Linked DNA regions of Homo sapiens: region 2 is linked to region 1. The links are contacts of gene promoters, found by promoter capture Hi-C in blood cells and fetal thymus (Javierre and others, 2016). All regions are on one chromosome and are shown on one strand. Each heading gives the region's core, a stretch centred on a gene start or on the middle of the fragment in contact. The rest is flanking DNA. Distances are from core to core; before and after follow the strand shown. Region 1 holds the start of IL17REL (interleukin 17 receptor E like). Region 2 overlaps BRD1 (bromodomain containing 1).

The links. Contacts are between HindIII fragments. The CHiCAGO score rates a contact against its expected background, and 5 or more counts as called.
Region 2: a fragment that was not itself captured here is called in contact with the fragment with the promoter of IL17REL in region 1 in 2 of 17 cell types (activated CD4 T cells and total CD4 T cells); the score reaches 5.7 in activated CD4 T cells.

The regions. Positions count from the first base shown.
Region 1 is chr22:50,011,429-50,014,087 of GRCh38, reverse strand. It overlaps IL17REL (interleukin 17 receptor E like), which reads left to right and starts at 1,323. Exons shown (of 15, transcript NM_001371417.1): 1 at 1,323-1,543. The coding sequence starts at 1,442. RefSeq lists an enhancer at 838-1,438. The HindIII fragment of the contact is 1,957 bases long and covers 689-2,645 here.
Region 2 is chr22:49,819,229-49,821,887 of GRCh38, reverse strand. The region is part of intron 2 of BRD1 (bromodomain containing 1); the gene reads left to right. Among named protein-coding and RNA genes, the nearest start is that of BRD1, 7.3 kb to the left of the region's middle. The HindIII fragment of the contact is 187 bases long and covers 1,260-1,446 here.

The DNA of each region.
Region 1 (2,659 bases), core at 74-2,573:
CCAAATGTGCCTGCCTGCTGCTGACCATGCCGTGGCATGGAGGCTGGCACTAGCCACTCTCTCCAGGGCATTGTGGCCACAGGCACGCTGCTGCAGGGGGCGGGCTCAGCCCCATCTACTCTGCCCAGCAGTGAGTGCATAAGTTCCAGCCCATGGAGGGCTCTAGGCCAGGCGGGGGCAGGGTCGAGGTGCTGGCCCAGGAGGCAGGGAGGTGGGCAGTGCGGGGTGGTGGGAGGGAGGGAGGACTTCACGGTCACAGCAGCCCCTGCCGCCTTCCCTCCCCTGGGACCGAACCCCAGAGCTTGTTTCTCAAGCTCCCTCCTGACTACCCGAGCCCACAGTGTGAGGCCCACAGCCTCTCCCAGCCTGGGGGTGGTGCCGCCCTCCACACTTGGGGTGTCCTGTGGGTATTCCAGGCAGAACACCCCAGCTAGACACTCCCAGGCTCCCCAGCTATTAACTCCCGCCATCCCCCCCCCACACACACACAGACACACACACACACACACACACACACACACACACACACACACACACACACGTGGGGCAGTGCCCTCCCAGAACCTGAGGCAGGTGCAGAAGCCTCTGTGCCTGTCCAGGAAGGGAGGAGCCAGGAGGACCCAAGAACTGCACCCTGGTTCTCTCCAACCCCCTGCCCTGGCTGGAGGCAAATGGGAAGCAGTAAGCTTCTGCCCAGAAACTTTCCTATGCATTTGATGCTCCAAATAAGAAGATGACACAGAACGGCTCCCTGAGCAGAGGCTGGGCCCCAGAGTTCCCAGCCTCGGGGGGTGCCCTCCGGAGTGGGGGGGGGCTCATAGGGAGGACCACACAGGGGAGGTGGCCTTTTGCATCTTGAGGGGAGGTGGAGGCCAGGGACTTGGGTGGAATCTCAGGTCTTAGGAGAGGGCTCCCCTTAGGGGCTGGGGCTGAAGCCAGGGGCTCTGGGGTATGAGTGCCCAGGACAGATTCCACCCCTCTGCCAGCCCAGCCAGCTTTCCAGGGCCCTTGTCTACCCTCCTGGCCTCATGCATGCCTGAGGGAGGTGCACGCCGGCGGCAGCCTATCCCGCCGGCCTGGAGCCATCTCTGCACCAGTGGCCGCCCTGTGGGGAACCCCATTAGGGTGTCCTCGGACCCCAAAGGCCCCAAGGTTTCTGGATGCTTCCTTTGGAAACCTAGAAACTCCACAAGTGTCTGGCCACAGTCTTCTGGCCCCAGGCGGTGGAAAGTCTCCCGGGCTGCTGTCTGTGAAGCGAGCCCTGTTTTGCCGGGAGGGGGAGTGTCTCGCTCGCTCCAGCTGTGAAGAGCAGCCTCCACCCTCTGTTTGTCTTTGGGGCTGGAGCTGCAGGGTCAGCCTGGAGCCGCTGCCACAGGGCATCCTGCAAACTTGCCCCACTCACATCCACGCTTACCAGTGGGAGCTCTCACTGCACAGCCAGATGCTGGCTGGGCAAGCACTCGCGTTCTTGGGCCTGACCTGGGGCACTTTCCAGAGCCTGGCCATCCCCCGGATTACAGAATGTGGCCTCTCCTGTTCTCAGGTAAGCTCCTGCCTCCTCCTAGGCCCCTACACTGTGGCAGATAAGGCCCTGGTTTCTCCTCAGGTGGGTCTGGCCTGACGCTCTCAGCACATCAGCAGGTGAGGGGTTGCAGGGCCCTGGGGGGTCCGAGGGCAGCGCTGGTGAAAGAAGGATGGGAGACCTGGCCTGACCCTGCCGAGCTGCTCCGGGAAGTGTTTGCTGGAAGCTCAAGGCAGGGTGAGCCCACCTCGGACCCACCTGTGACCTCCAAGGAGGCTGTGTTAGAATCTAGGGCAGCCCGCAAGCCCATCCGGGGCTCCCACCCCACCCCGCTCGGCTGCTCTGAGCCATCGGGAGCCCGCAACACCTGGGCTTGTGTAGACACCTGCCAAGGAAACACTCGGAGAACGTGCTGAGAATGAGATGTTGGCAGTGGAGGTGGCTGGGTTGGGGTGGAGGGCTCTCACTGCACAGCCCACTCACTCAGCCTTACAGGAGAGGGCGCTTCATCAGCACCTGCAGCAGGAAGTGTACCCAGCATCCCAGGAAGGGGCCCCGGTGCCCAAGGCTGGCCGGGCACAGTGGGGACACAGGCATGGAAAGGGCACAGAAGGTGTCCCGGAAAGGGAGGACTCACTGAGGACCTGCTGGGTGCACCGTTCCTGGCATGGGGACAGCAGTTAGCAAGATGTGCCTTTAGGGTGGTGGCCTGGTCACCTCAGGGGACACTTGCGGGGACATCCAGCAGCTCCACAGGGCCTGAGACGGGTCCAGCAGAGGGCTCAGCTCAGGGAGGGGAGCAGCAAGGGCTGGAGTGCTGGGTGCCATGGGCAGGCTCAGATCCACAGGGCATTCGTGGAACAAGGAAGAAAGCAGGCTGGGATGCGTGGGAACCGGTGGCAGCAGGGGAGATGGGCGGGTTCAGGTGGGAGGGGTGTCCACCGGATGCCACCCTGCAGTGGAGATGGAAAACAGGGAGGGGGCAGGCCTGGGGATCCTGGCTAGGAGGGGGAAGGAGAAGCGAGAGATGAGACCTCAGAATCGACTTTTGCCTCTGGGAGGAAATGGTCCCTGAGTTGGGAGACATGGGGGGAGGCGGCCTTGAAGTGCAAGCTGGAAAGCTTTGCTGAGGCGGCT
Region 2 (2,659 bases), core at 104-2,603, 190 kb after region 1:
GGCGGGTAGAGCCAGCCTGGTGCTGAGCTTGCAGCTTGGCTGGGGGAGACGCCTAGAGCCCCAGTACCACACAGACCCTCCAGGACTGCCGGGGGTCAGTGAGCAGGACCCTCTGAGGTGTCAGACCTGCCCCACATGTGAGGGGAGGACAGCACAGGTGGGACGCATGCAGGCTGAGCTGCATCGGGCGGTGAGGCTGGGAGGTTGCAGTGAGCTAAGATTGTGCTACTGTACCGCAGCCTGCGTGACAGAGTGAAACTGTGTCTCAAAAAAAAAAAAAGAAGTTTTAAGTGATTTTTGTTAATATTACTCTACTTTACCAAAGTGAAGTCCAGTTTCTTTTCACAGAGCTGTAAATACTCAGATAATTAGTCAATTCAGACAGAATGAACAAAAAATGCTCATAATCCTTCCCATCCAGGGAAAACCCTGTCAAAACCAAGGTGTTTGTCTTTGTAAATTAATCTGACTTTGAAGAGATGGTTTTGCTTGGATTTCTACCTATGAGTCAAAAAGTCTAGGGTTTGTATTAAGAGCTTCTGTATAAGAGGTCTAAAAATTTCAGCTTTACTGAAATTGAAGCAAAATAAACAAAATGTGATCTAACAAAATGAAGAGCCAAAAGTCTGAAGTGCTCCCTTCCCTGGCCAGTACCAGATGATGACCTGCTCTGGGAGAGGCCGGGCCTGGCCGGGCCGCACGCTCTCTGTTCTTTGGCTCCTGATGTTGGGTAGGCAGGACTGAAGGAGGCAGTGTTTGCATGCAGGACATGGGGGCTGAAGTGGCCAGGGCTGATTGAGAAGAAAACTCGACCTAAATATTTGAAAGCATGTATTGGAGCTAAACCGCGTACTGTGTGGTTCTGTTCTTTTCCTAACTTGGGAATAAACTATTATTTCAGCTTCGAGTAGAGAGAGAGAAACAAACCTGGACGAGTGTTCCTGGCCGCGGTCTCTGCAGTCTGGGTTTCCCAGTCTCCAGGAGATGCTGGTGCTTCAGGCCACCTTGCCACCAGTGGAGGAGCTCCCAGTGCGCCTGGCCTGTTGGCACCATGGTGCTGGACCCACCTCTGGGGTGGTTGTGAGGGGCAGGCTCTCAATACAGTACTGACTGCTGCCTGAAACCGGGTTTACTGCCTTGCTGTGGTCTGAGAGGCAGCTGATCTGGCAGCCCTGTTCTTAGGCCCTGGGCACTACCCCTGGGTGCATGTAGGAGGCCTCAGCTGTGCATTTGAATTCTGTGTAGATGAGGGTGAAGCTTCTTATTTTTTATTTTATGTTTAGAGACAGGGTCTTGTTCTGTTGCCCACGTTGGAGTGCAGTGGCGTGATCATGGCTTACAGTAGCCTCAAACTCTTGGACTCAAGCGATCTTCCCGCCTCAGCCTCCTCCCAGCCTCAGCTGGGAATACAGGCACGAGCCACTGTGCCTGGCCCATGGTGAAGCTTCTTGATGTGCAGCCGTGGGCGGGGATGCTGAGTCTAGTTGGTTATGGTGTGCACTAACCAATGGCTCCGGTGTAGGACCCACCTAGAGCATCTGAGGATGTTATGCTTCAGGCCAGCCAGTCACGCTGGAAGGGAGATGAGACCCCATCTGAGCAGCGTTTTAGAGATTTTAGAGAAAGAGGATCTTCCTTATTCCCTGTGGACAGAACAGAATCTGCCTTCAGGGACGGACTGCTTTTATAATTCTAGTGGTTTAAAAAATTAAAATTTCAAGTAAAAAAGATAGTTCTTTTTTTTCCCCCCTTTTTTTTGAGGTGGAGTCTTGCTTTGTTGCCCAGGCTGCAGTGCAGTGCGGTGATCTTGGCTCACTGCAACCTCCACCTCCTGGGTTCAAGTGATTCTCCTGCCTCAGCCTCCTGAGTAGCTAGGATTACAGGCACCTGCCACCACACCCGGCCGATTTTTGTATTTTTAGTAGAGACGGGGTTTCACCATGTTGGCCAGGCTGGTCTTGAACTGCTGACCTCAGGTGATCCACCCGCCTCGAACTCCCAAAGTGCTGGGATTACAGGCGTGAGCCACTGCGCCAGGCTAAAAGAGATAGTTTTAAGGTTATAATCTGTTTTTTTGTAAGTTTGATATACTATGATTAAATAATAACAGCGGTAAATAAACACTTTGAAAAACAGGCAGGGCTGGGTGTGTGGCTCACACCTGTAATGCCAGCACTTTGGGAGGCCGAGGTGGGTAGATCACGAGGTCAGGAGTTCGAGACCAGCCTGGCTAACATGGTGAAAACCCATCTGTACTAAAAATATAAAAATTAGCCAGGCGTGGTGGTGCGCGCCTGTAATCCCAGCTATTCAGGAGGCTGAGGCAGGAGAATCTCCTGAACAGAGTCCTGCTCTTCTGCTCAGACGGGTGCAGTGGCATGGTTATGGCTCACTACAGCCTCGACCTCCTGGGCTCAAGCGACTCCCCCACCTCAGCCTCTTGAGTAGCTGGGACCACAGGCATGTGCCACCATGCCCTGCTAATGTTTTTATTTTTTGGTGAGATGGGGTCAAGCAATCTGCCTGCCTCGGCCTCCCAAAGTGCTGAGATTACAGGCGTGAGCCACCATGCCTGGCCTTACATTGATTTATTGTTATTTTTTCTTTTCTGTTCTTCTTTTTTTTCCTGAGATGAAGCCTCGCTCTGTTGCCCAGGCTG